Linked DNA regions of Homo sapiens: region 2 is linked to region 1. The links are contacts of gene promoters, found by promoter capture Hi-C in blood cells and fetal thymus (Javierre and others, 2016). All regions are on one chromosome and are shown on one strand. The core of a region is centred on a gene start or on the middle of the fragment in contact, and the rest is flanking DNA. Distances in the headings are between cores, read along the strand shown.

Evidence for each region. Contacts are between HindIII fragments. The CHiCAGO score rates a contact against its expected background, and 5 or more counts as called.
Region 2: a fragment that was not itself captured here is called in contact with the fragment with the promoter of GMNN in region 1 in 1 of 17 cell types (neutrophils); the score reaches 6.9 in neutrophils.

What each region holds. Positions count from the first base shown.
Region 1 is chr6:24,771,615-24,778,041 of GRCh38, forward strand. GMNN (geminin DNA replication inhibitor) reads left to right here and starts at 3,323. Exons shown (of 7, transcript NM_015895.5): 1 at 3,323-3,630; 2 at 5,608-5,683. The coding sequence starts at 5,633. RefSeq lists an enhancer at 4,238-4,317. The HindIII fragment of the contact is 2,242 bases long and covers 2,244-4,485 here.
Region 2 is chr6:24,933,245-24,940,077 of GRCh38, forward strand. It overlaps LOC105374981 (a long non-coding RNA gene), which reads left to right and starts at 731. Exons shown (of 3, transcript XR_007059514.1): 1 at 731-820; 2 at 1,002-1,126. It overlaps RIPOR2 (RHO family interacting cell polarization regulator 2), which reads right to left and starts at 2,716. Exons shown (of 22, transcript NM_001286445.3): 1 at 2,594-2,716. The coding sequence starts at 2,654. RefSeq lists an enhancer at 3,429-3,598. The HindIII fragment of the contact is 3,050 bases long and covers 3,614-6,663 here.

The sequences.
Region 1 (6,427 bases), core at 2,073-4,572:
ATCAAAAAAAGTCTAAGCCCTCTGTTGAAGGACATCCTAATGATTACGTCAAGGCCAACAGGATAATCTCACTTTCGATAATTTAAAGTATACCGATTTGGGGCCTTAATTACAATTATAAAATCCCACCACCTTTGCCTTATTGAATAACCTAATCATAGGCATAATCAGAGGTCAGAGATAATGGGTGGCATTTTAGAATTCTATCTACTGTAAGTATGTTGTCAAGCTTTTCTATAGCTGCTAGTCTGATAGTTGAAATAGTTTTTCAGAGTTTTAATTTGCATGTCTCTTATTCTCAGTAAAGTTGAGCATGGTTTTGTATGTTTAAGGACCATTCCTCTATCGTTTTCTCTGAACCGTCCATTCCTGTCTTTTGCCGATTTATCTATTGGGCTGTTGGCTTCTCCCTCTCAATGTTTTATAGCTCTTTAAAAATTAGGGAATGTAGTCTTTTATGTGTAAAAGAAATTCCCTATATTTTCTCTTACTTTATCATTTGTCTTTGCTTATGGAAATCATCCGATTTTTAAAATACAGACAATTTCCATTTTAAGACAATGTGTAGGCCACAATTGTGTATGTGAAACAAAACATATTTAATGCCCAGGGGCCACCTTCTAGACCATCTTCAATCCTTTAAATAATTCTGCACTAAAATAATCCCCTGAAGATCCTGAGTATATTATTCTTTTTTTTTTTCTTTTTGTTTGAGACGTAGTCTCACTCTGTCGCCCAGGCTGGAGTGCAGTGGCGCGATCTCCGCTCACTGCAAGCTCTGCCTCCTGGGTTCACGCCGTTCTCCTGCCTCAGCTTCCTGAGTAGCTGGGACTACAGGCACCTGCCACCATGCCCGGCTAACTTTTTTTTGTGTTTTTAGTAGAGATGGGGTTTCACCATGTTAGCCAGGATGGTCTCGATCTCCTGACCTCGTGATCCACCCGCCTCGGCCTCCCAAAGTGCTGGGATTACAGGGTGAGCCACTGCACCCGGCCAATCCTGAGTATATTATTCTTAACATCATCTGAGTCTCAAGTCCCAAAACCTTCATTAGTAATGTGTTTCATCATTTCACTTCTCTTAGCTGTGCTTATACTCATCAAAGAAATGGTTTGTCAAAAAATAAATTGGTGCAATGTAATTATTATTTATCCATCTGAATAAAAATAAAAATAAAAAAATTGGTGTAAATATTTGTGGTTGCTAAAGTTTTGTTTTGTTTTGTTTTGTTTTGTTTTTGAGATAGAGTCTCACTCTGTCACCTGGGCTAGATTGTGGTAGTGTGATCTTGGCTTACTGCAACCTCCACCACCTGGGTTCAAGCTATTCTCCTGCCTCTGCCTCCTGAGTAGCTGGGATTACAGACGCATGCCACCATGCCTGGATAATTTTTGTATTTTTAGTAGAGACAGGGTTTCACCATGTTGGCCAGGTTGGTCTTGAACTCCTGACCTCAGGGTGATCCGCCAGCCTCAGCCTCCCAAAGTGCTGGGATTACAGGCATGAGCCATGGTGCCTAGTGGTTGCTGAAATTTTTATGGCTAAACATTTTCCAGTATTTCTACCTCCTTATCCCATCATTTAATCCTTTTTAAATTAATATTTTAAAAATTTTATTATTGGCCAGGTGCAGTGGTTCACGCCTGTAATCCCAGCACTTTGGGAGGCCAAGGTGGGCAGATCACACGATCAGGAGTTCAAGACCAGCCTGGCCAACATAGTGAAACCCTGTCTCTACTAAAACTACAAAAAATTAGCTGGGTGTGGTGGCGGGCACCTGTAATCCCAGCTACTTGGGAGGCTGAGGCAGGAGAATCGCTTGAACCCGGGGGGGGCAGAGGTTGCAGTAAGCCGAGGTTGCACCATTGCACTCCAGCCCTGGTGACAGTGCAAGACTCCGTCTCAAAAAAAAAAATTATTATTGAAAATCCCAAACAGATATAAAAGTAGAGGGAGTGAATAAAAAATCTTCATGTACTCATCCATACTAGCCTCAGCAGTTATCAACACAAGGCCAATACTGTTTTATTCGCACCAGTGGTTCTCAACTGGGGATGATTTTGCCCTGCGGAAGGTTATCTGACAAGGTCTGCAGACATTTTTGGTCTTCACAATTGGGATGTACTCCTGGTAGCTAGAGGGTAGAGGCCAGGGATACTGCTAAACAGCATACAATGCCCAGGACAGCCCCCACCACGAACAATTTGCCCAGTCTAAAATGTCAATAGAGCCCATACTGAGAAAGCTTGATTTATACCTTTTCCCTTGCTTCTCTCAATAATTATTTCAAATAAAATATATGGTATAAAATTTCATCTGTAATTACCATTTATAGGTAGAAGCTATTACAATAAAACCCACAATATTGTCATTACAACTAATCTCTTTTTTTAACCCATTGCTCATCAGGTAACCTTAAACAACTCATATCTTACCATCCCAAAATATTCAGTCAGTGTTCAAATTTCCCTTGGGTATTTTTTTAAATACAGTGTTTAGTTCAGACGAGATCCATACATTGCATTTGGTAATATGTCCCTTATTTGTACTCGATAACGCCTTCCTTCTGCTTTTTATTTTTAAAATATTTTAAAATTAATTTTTTTTTGAGACAGGGTCTCCCTTTGTCTGTAGTCCCAGCTACTCGGGAGGCTGAGGCAGGAGAATCGCTTGAACCCGGGAGGCGGAGCTTGCAGTGAGCCGAGATCGCGCCACTGCACTCCAGCCTGGGTGACAGAGCGAGACTCCGTTTCAATTAAAAAAAAAAAAAAGAAGGAAAAGGCTAGACGTAATTATTACCAAGGTGTTTCTGCTCCTTCAAATTGCAACAGCAGTTGTAATTTCAGTGCCTAGAACAGTAGTAATTGGCACGTATAAGGCGCTCAATGAATAGCTGCAGGATTAACTGATAATCGGTTGTCTCCTGAACAATTCCTACCGCACCACACCATAGTCAAAACACAAAAAGCCAAAATATAAAAGCCCCTAATACAACTACGAGTCCGTGGAGCCAGGGCTTTACACAAATATATGTCGTGTACTACATATTAATATATATGCACATACAATATTTTGTTCTTCTGGTGCTAACGACTAATGGAGGCAAATCTTTCTCCCTTTCGTAAAGGGCTAAAACTTTGCATTTTAAGGAAGTTCCAAGAGCAGGGTCGGAGGGGAGGGTCAAAGGGCACAGGCCTCCCAGCCCGCAGAAAACCCCCACGGTCCTCAAGTACTCGCTACCGTTGACCGCGCAGGCGCAGGAAGGGGCGGGGCCGAGGGAAGAGGCGATTCGCGGGATCCAGAGGCCCCGCCCCTCGTCTGCGTCAGTTGGTCACGTGGTTGTTCGGAGCGGGCGAGCGGAGTTAGCAGGGCTTTACTGCAGAGCGCGCCGGGCACTCCAGCGACCGTGGGGATCAGCGTAGGTGAGCTGTGGCCTTTTGCGAGGTGCTGCAGCCATAGCTACGTGCGTTCGCTACGAGGATTGAGCGTCTCCACCCAGTAAGTGGGCAAGAGGCGGCAGGAAGTGGGTACGCAGGGGCGCAAGGCGCACAGCCTCTAGACGACTCGCTTTCCCTCCGGCCAACCTCTGAAGCCGCGTCCTACTTTGACAGCTGCAGGGCCGCGGCCTGGGTAAGGGCGAAGGGGTTGTTGAACGGTCGCGGGAGCCGGGGCGGGGTTGGGAGGTGAGTCGAGGGACTGCCCCATTGGCTGGGTCGGTTTTGGCGCGCTCTCACTTCCGCGCTTCCTATTGGCTGGCTGGCGCAGTTCCCGAGGCGCGCGCCGCGGTTGGTAGGCTCGGACGCGCGGGGCCACACTGCCCGCCCCCTAGCCTGGCGCTGGGCCTCCGGGACAAGTTGGCTGGGTCCGGGCTTGGGGACTGCAACGCGGGTAAGGGACTCAGCCTGGGCTTGCCAGCTGTGGGGATGAGGCGAAGCATCCATCCTCTTGGCAGTTAAGTGGCTGGTCCTGATCTGAGGGATCTGCAAATTTGGCTCATGGAAAGAGGTGGCTGAATTCTGCGTCTCCCATTAAACGGATACTGGCGTTGTTGATACGGGTTTCGCATGGACCCTGTCCTGTGCCAGGGTTTTTAATCTAGCTATTAAAGGAACTGGAGAATAACAAGTAAGGGTTGCAAGGTCGCTGACAGGCGTGGGAAACTTGTGAAGGATTAGAATGCTAAGTGGCTTTCAGCTTTTTTCACACTAAGGTACGTTTTACGTCGCAACCTAGGACACAGCTATCTAACCAAATGAGACGTGATGGAAGCAATGTTTCTCGTCTCTTCAATTCCATTCTGTTCAGTTGCATTTTTCTAAGCAGTGTTGCTCATGACTCACTAATTTCGAGATCACGGCCCGCGACCCGCAGTTTGAAGAACATTGCGTAGGGTCTGTTTACTGGGGCCCGAACACCATTTTCTTAACATGAAATAGAGTAGAAAATAGCAGGATGCCCGCACAAATTAGATTGTTTTGTTTTCTAAGCTTTTTTTTTTTTTGAGACGGAGTCTCGCTCTGTTGCCCAGGCTGGAGTGCAGTGGCAGGATCTCGGCTCACTGCCACCTCCACCTGTCGGGTTCAAGCGATACTCCTGCCTCAGCCTCCCGAGTAGCTGGGACTACAGACGAGCACCACCACGTCCGGCTAATTTTTGTATTTTTGGTAGAGATGGAGTTTCACCATATTGGCCAGGCTGGTTTCGAACTTCTGACCTCAGGTGATCCGCTTGCCTCGACCTTCCAGCACTTTGGTGATCATGCAGGTGATCCGCCTGCCTCGACCTCCCAAAGTGCTGGGATTACAGATGTGAGCCACCACGCCCGGCCTTTCCTAAGCTTTTTTGTTTGCACATGTGTGTGCACGCGCCAGGACACAAGGTAAAATGTATTAATGTTAGAAGCCACTGCACTGAGTAAAGGCATGGCCACAAAAATTAGGGACATCTATCGACGAGGCACAGGCGCAGACACGGCAGGGGCCAATGGGTAGTGGGCAGTGGGCAGTGGGCAGTGGAGCAGCAGTTCAGATGCTGAGTTTGGCCCAGTGGTCTAGTCAACCGCATTACATAGATCCCTTTCTACCTTTTCCCTCTTTCTTGCTTGTTAGTCCTTCAGTTCATGTTACTGGTTAAACATTTCCTACAAATGTAAATGCATGATCTCATTTGACCAGATATTAAGTCTGTGTTAAGTTATTGTCAGAGCCCAGTTTATTATACCTTAAATCTGTCTTTGAATCAGGAAAGTTAAGATGCTGCTCTTTAGGATGGACCTGGGCATACCCTAGTATCTGTTTATTTTGCTTTTTCTGGTGACTATTTAATCCAGGACAATATGTTTAGAAATTTTAAACCAGTTTTAGAAATTGGTTTAAAATACATTAATTTCATTTTTTCAGCTATAATTATTATGTGTGTATATATGTAAAATATAGATATCAAGAGTCATTAACTTTAGTCACCTTAGTCATTGACAGGGCTGAGTTTGGATTAAGAGAGAAAAAATAATAGTTCTACTGTACAATAGTATAATTTTTATGATTGTAAGTATTTTAAACCTAGACTCCACCTTCGGGGGTGCAAACCATATTGTTTTTTAATTACTAGTCTTCTGTGCTTCACCATCTACATAATGAATCCCAGTATGAAGCAGAAACAAGAAGAAATCAAAGAGAATATAAAGGTATGTGATTGAATAACTTTAATTTTTTTTTGTAGAAAGCATGGGGCTAAAAGTATTTTGACATAATTTATCCAAATTTAGCCTGGCTATAATTTCTGTAAGCCTTGAGTTAGTCAGAGGATGAGTAACAATAGAGAACATTTTTAAAAAACTAATTACGGTTGAATATTAAGTCTGACCCAAGAATATGGGTTGTCTCTCTTATTTTGGTCTTTCAACAGTATTTTGTAGTTTTCAGAGCATGAATTTTACACTATTTATGTTAAATTTTTTCCTAAGTATTCTTTTTGAGGTTACTGTGAATGGAATTGTTTCCTTAATTTCATTCTCATTTGGTCATTGCTACTGTATAGGAAAATAATTGACTTTTGTGTCTTGATTTTGTGTCCTGAAACCTTGCTGAACTTAATAGTTCTAATTGTTTTTTAGTAGATTCTTCAGGATTTTCTTTTCTTTTTGTATTTTCTCTGTGAAGATTCCAGAAGTATCTTTAGGATTTTCTATGTATGAGATTATTACTGCTTTGTTTCTACTCTTATATTTCATGAAATGTTATTAAAATCCATTGTGTATATCTTCAGAATTAAGAGTCTTTGACCACAGACATGTTTTGCATTATATTACACATTTTTCTAGAGTATACCATATTCATTACCATCTAACCTATTTGATTTGTGATACTTTTTCAATCCCTATATGATACTTTCACTGGAAATCTTATTCCAAGTATTTACTCTTATGACA
Region 2 (6,833 bases), core at 3,889-6,388, 160 kb after region 1:
GTATTAAGTACTGACCACTATTCTAAAAGCTTTCCCTATCATAACACTTAAGCCACACACAGCCATATGAGGTTTGGACTCCATTTTATAAGTGAGTAAACTGAGGCACAGAGAGATTAGGTAACCTGCTTAAGGTCATAAGTGAATTGGTTGGCAAAGCCTAGACCGTGCAATTCCAGAGCTGAAGCTTTTGACTGTTACCCCACACAGAGCTTGCTTAAAATGAGGCAGCAGCTGGACATGCTTTCACATAAATTGCCAAACATGAGCCACGGCTCTGAAAACTGAATAAAAATACACTGGATGTTGGCCTTGCAAGGATTTTCTCTTTAATCTTTAGGGATTAAGTTAAATGAGATAATCAGTTTGGAAAAGATAAAGCATACCACATTGAAGTGCAACGCAAACATTATGCATCTACTATGAAGATAATCTGTACAACCGATAGGTATTACTGTCCCACTTCACCATTGAGGAGACCAAAGTTAGCTTGTATGGGTACCACGAAGCAGAACCAGAATCTGAGTCTGAATCTCGTTTGACTCCCAACTTATCAACCTGCACTACCTCCCTCACTTCCCACCTCAGAGCTAGCTGGTTACCTAGCTACCTGGAACCTGGGGACCTCAGCCATTCCACTACAACATGGTTAGTGAGGTTACAATAATCACCTTGGAAATGATGAATGCTCAGGAGAGAGAACACACAGGTTCATCCAGCCCTGCTTGGTCTTAACGCTTCCCTTCAGGATGGGGCCACGCATAATCCAGAGTGCAGTGCATCAGCCTATAGAGGGCGCTCTTAAGTATCATAGCCAGATGTAAAAGAGCAAAATTCCTATAGGCAAAGAAATGTGGGCTGGGCGTTTTGGAATGCCATTCCTGGAGGGAGGTGTGGGTGAATGATTGCCAATTTTTCCGTTCTAAGCTTATCTTCATAGTTGTGAGCATTTTTCAGGTCCTCAAAAGAGTTAGTATCTAAGTATAAATTTTCTCTTTAAGGTGTTTGCTTAAAGAGGAAACATCTTTAAGAAGTGAAAGCTGAAGAATGGGGCCTAAGATCAAACTTCAAGGTGTTGGTGGCCTAAACGCCTGCCATCAAAGTAACACAACAGAATGATAACTTGGTAAACAGCAGCGAAGCTCAATAGATATTCTTCAAATTGATTTAAGTTGTGATAAAAACCCAACTAATGATTTTAAATATTTCTGTAGCTAGAACAACATAGCAGAAAGACAACATCAAAATATTAACCATGATTACATTCTACATGACTAGATTACAAGGGGTTCTTTGCGACACTCTAATTTTTCTTCAGCGAACTTGTATTGCTTGGGTAATTACACATACACAAAAACCTTACTACTGTTCCTTTTAAAAAATTACTGAATAGAGTTTTTTAAAAAATTGCTAGACGTAGTTTCTTGCGGAAAATAATCAAATTCACGAGATTCTTGAGTCCAAATTTCCTTTATTTAGGTGGCTCCAAATTCTAAAAAAGCTTTTGCCTATAGCCCAATCTCATAGGCAGCATTTGAACAAAACATCCATCCAATGACTAGATCATCCCTTTAAAATCGCAACCTTTACAGTTAAATTCCAGTGGATAGGTCAAGTCATGGAAAAGCTGCAAGATGAGAACAGAAAACTGAGCAGTGCCAATGGGGATTGGAAGCTACCAGGGCTCCAGTATCCCGACTTGGGAAAAAAGAAAATTGGAAAAGGGAATGGAGGGTTGGAGTGCCAAGTATGTGTGAGGAAGAGTAAGAGAGAAGGACCCAGGCCGGGCATGGTAGCTCACGCCTGTAATCCCAGCACTTTGGGGGGCCAAGGAGGGTGGATCACCTGAAGTCAGGATTTCAAGACCAGCCTGGCCAACATGGCAAAATCCCATCTCTACTAAAAATACAAAAATTAGCTGGGCATGGTGGTGGGCGCCTGTAGTCCCAGCTACTTGGGAGGCTGAGGCAGGAGAATGACTTGAACCCGGGAGACGGAGGTTGCAGTGAGCTGAGATTGCACCACTGCACTCCAGCCTGAGCAACAAAGCAAGACTCTGTCTCAAAAAACAACAACAAAAAAAAAAAAAAAAAAAAAGAGAAGGACCGAGAGAAAGATAGACAGAGAGAGAGAGACAGAGAGAGAGAGAGACAGAAAGAGAGAAGTGCAAATCAAAGCAACATGGTACCATGAAAAACCACTCCTGGTCCATTTATTTAACTTCTTCCCTAGCAGCCCTGCTGTGCTCAAACCACTGTGACAGGCTTTCCTTAAGGTGTTAGACAAGAGATAGCACAGAAGAGAGACAAGGCAAAAAATTTAGTACTATTTTCCAGCCTAAACTAAACCTTTATTTTAGTCATGACTTTAAAAAATGTATTTGCGGGAATGACTCAACCCCTTGTTCCACCCCTTGCCTTGTGTATTCCTTCAGTGCCTAAGTTGATATTTGCAGCCACTACCTCACTCAGGATGCTTTGTTTTTATCATTTCAAAATACTCAAGTCCTTGCCCAAGCTGGGCAAAAGTGTCCAGTGGTGTCAAAACAAAGCAAAGCAGACCGGAGAGCCTCCTGCCAGAAAGATGCATTTACCTTCACCAAAAACATCATCCTCTTCATCGACCAGGAGCTCCTCAGCATCAAAAAACTGCATCTTGGAGAGGACAGGCGCGAGAAGCAGCAGGCAGCAGCCCCGGCAGTCTCAGCAGTCACACTGCCGACCGAGGTGATTTCCTTTCCTTGGGTTGCCCAAGCCCTCTGGAGGGCAGCTTCCGCATCTGCCCTGAAGAAAGCAGTTTCATTCATATGAATAGGCTTCTTGAGCCTTGTGAAGAGTGAATCCCAGGTGGGGTAATTCTCACCACTGAGGAGAAAGAATTTTTTGAAGAGGGCTGCAGATCCGGTTGGATATGAATACAGATATCACTCAAAGTCTGAATGCAATGAATTCTATTTCAAAGCAACAACTTTCATATTTCCTTAAAGAGGAAGGTGGGTGCTTAACTTTCTTGCTTATGAATTTGAACACAATGGGTTTTGTTGAAAGAGGGAGTTCATATTTCTCATATCTTGGTTTTGCTTCAATTACAATTTATCTGAAAGTAAAGCAAGCCACTATGTTAAACCAAAGCAGGCATTTAGAGGACAGAGCTTTTATTTTGCTCAGTAATAGTTGCATTTTTCTTTTCTTTTCTTTTCTTTTTTTCAAACCTCTTGCATTTAAGGATTGGAAACTTTACAGCATTTAAACCAAACTGAACCATATCTAGGCTTTATGTGGCTCGATTAAATCTATAGTCAATGAATAGATAACTGGTTTTGGTCAAACATCTTGCATTTCACAATATTTACTCAGTTTGATACTTCAGACTGTATCACTAAAGGAGAAAGAAGAAAATGTAACTCAAAAAGCAGTCCTCCCAAAGGGATGAGTGAACACTGAGCTTCTACGCGAGCACCATTGGCTGGCATCACCATATCGAGCTACCCAACGTGTGCCAAATTCTGTCTGGCTGCACAAACAAACACACATCTCTCTGAGTAATACTGAGACTTCATTTCGGGGTTTCCCAGAGCACTCCACTGTGTTGTAAGATCTCTTAGGTGGCCAGAAGCTTAGAAAATGCAAATGGAGATGACAGTGAGGAGCTGTTGACCCAAGGTGTTTATTTTTGGCACTTTATTTACTGCATGGTTTTGAAGATACTCCCAGTGTTACCCTAGAGAAACTGTCCCCTCCTCCTGTAACTGCAACCTTGAAATTGCACCATTTTCTCCCAGAAGAGACTGTGGACAACAGGGTTGGAGAAATCCAGCAGTGAGAAGGGATCACCCCAGAGGAATTCAGGAATCAGACACTGAGGGTTAACTGAGCAGCAACAGTCAGTTCATCCCTGCATTGGTGGCTGCAGCAGTTCCCAAAGACAGTGTACAGCTTGGGTCCTGCTGGGATCACCAATTGTTGTCAATCAGGGCTGGAACCATCCTTAGAGGAGAGCTTGGAAATGTCTGGGGTGTTTTGGGTGGCACAATGACTGGGGGTTATTACTGGTATTTAATGTCTTAGCACTCAGGGGCCCAGGGATATCAACCTTACCATAATGCATGGAACAGTAGCTCAACAGGAAGAACTGTCCAGCTCCAAATACCAATAATGCCCACCTTGAGACACACTGACAGGCAGAGAACTGGAGTTATCCTTTTCTCTAGCTCTCCTTTGCATCTCCCCTTTCTGACCCTTTTACCACCCCCTACCATGATCCCCACTTGAATGATGTTTCTGGACAAGGGTTGCACTTAGTTACATAAATTAAATTAATTAAAATGGGCCTAGGTGTAGGAAATTTGGATGTGGACTAAAGCTCTCTTTTGTGTGGTTGGGATAAGAGGATGGGTGTCCATTTTGATAATCACTACATTTCTCAACTACTGTCCTATGTCCTTTAATCTCCACAACTTCATGAGGTGGGTGCTATTATCCCATTTTACAGATGAAGCAATGGGGGCTCTGAGGGCTTGAAAAACATTCCTAAGATCAGGCAGCTAGTGAGTGGCAGATTTGACTAATTCCAGAGCTCACTCTGTTACCTCATGTCTGGACAACTTATGGGAGTGACTGCACACAGTCCAGTTCACTGCAGCATCCCCGTGGCTCTTGGGGACCTGCACTACCTCCCTCACCTCCCACCTCAGAACTACCTGGTTACCACGTGAACCTGAGGGCCCTAGCTATTCCACTTCAAAAAGTTAGCATAACCTCTGTAGGCCTGTTTCATTTTAAGTGGGTGGAATTGTGTCTCCCCTGTTGAATTCATATGTTGAAGTCCTAACCCCCAGTACCTCAGAATGTGACCTTACTTAGAAACAGGGCCATTGAAGATATAATTAGTTAGGATGAACTTATATCATATTGGAGGAGGATGGGTCCTTAATCCAATATGACTAACTTCCTCATAAAAAGGAGAGATTTAGACAAAGACATAGACATAGGGAGGATAGTATGTGAAGATGAAGGCAGAGATCCACAAGCCAAGGAACACCAAAGACTGCCAGTAAACCACCATGAGCTAGGGGAGAGGCCTGCAAGAGATTCTCCCTCACATCCCTCAGAAGAACCAATCCTGCCAACACCTTGACCTTGGACTTCTAGCCTCCACAGCTGTGATGCAGTAAGTTTCTGTTGCTTAAGCCACCCAGTTTGTGGTACTTCATTACAGAAGTCCTAGAAAATAATATACTTTCTCATTTGGCTTGTTTTGAGGATTAAGTAGGATAATTTATGTAAAGAAGCTGACACAGTACATGGTACACAGTAAATACCCAGTTATAATTATACGCCTAAGTCTCTCACAGGGACGCTTAGGATATTTCCCAAATTGAAGGCTCAATGGGGATAGAGAATGAGAAGTCACCACACTCCATATAAAACCTCAATAACCCTTAGGAAGTTTCCCTCAGTCTCCTCTTCTCCAATTTAGATATCTCAGAAACACAGCTAATCATCTCAAAGAACAAATCACAAATGCTACCACGAACTCCTTGAAAGCACAGAGGATAGAAAACATGGTTCTTGCTCTCCAAAGTTTACAATTACCTTAGAGAGATATGACATACATGCATGATGTGTTAACTAAAAAGAAAAATTAATAAACTACATATGCATGCATCAATATGGATGAGTTTCAAAAACATAATATTGACTTTGAAAGGTCTCAGAAAATTATAAATGGTATAATTATATTTATATGAGTGTCCAAAATGAGCAAATAAAAAAATGTAGGTAATCGCTAACACAGAGTGCCAGCAACAGTTTTAAGTGCTTTGATTCACTTAATTCCTATATCAACCCTAAGATATAGATATATTTATTATCTCTATTTTAGTTTAAGGCCCAAGAGGTGAAGTGATCCACCCAAGGTCATACATTTGGTAAGTGGTAGAGGTACTGAGATTTGATCCCAGAGTCCAAACTCTTAAACACCAGGCTACACTATCTCTTATCTATGTAAAGTCTAAAAGAATGCTGAGCTTATATAAAATTTTAACAAAGTGCAATAAACTGTGAAGAAGTGACTAGACAAAGGAGGCAGAGTAGGGGAGTGGGCTCCTAAGAGTGGCAAATTGTGGGAAGGTAACTAGGAATGTATGATAGCTAAGGATTGTTATGCAGACTCATCTCTCATATCAGGAAGAGGACCATGAGGCTTAGTCACCCAAGATGGGAAATAAAACACCTTTACAAGTGGAAATTTATGGCACTTAAAGCAGAAAGGAGAAGGGCAGAAGATTCTTTCTCAAAAATAGCTCAAAATAGTACTTATGCTAAATTAGCATATTTTGGGGGACACATTCTGATCCCCTTCGAATCCATATTAGAAAAGAAAGACTAAAGATAGGGAAATTCAGTGCTTAGTTAAGGGAGATGTAGGTCACAGAGAGTAGTTTTCACTAAGAAATGAGGAGTAAGTCTGAAACAACAATGAAAGAATCTTGCTTTTCAGTGATTGAGGCAAACAGCTCCAATAATTGGATTTGGGGAAGAGAACAAAAGTATAGATGAACCAGTATAAGGCAACTACTTTGATCAAATGGTGATTTGTGACAACCTGTACTAAATTTAACAGCAGAATTTCATCAAGGTCATAAGCACAGGAACATAGCAAAGCTTTTATACTCCAAAGAGTTGGTGCCCACTTTATGCCATACTAGGTCTGTGAATTACAATGATATGAAAGGTCTGGTCCTTGCTTTGTGGAACTTTACTCACTTCATTCATTTGGAGAATAGTAATGAATACCTACTATATTTCAGGTATGGTGTGAAATATTTAAGT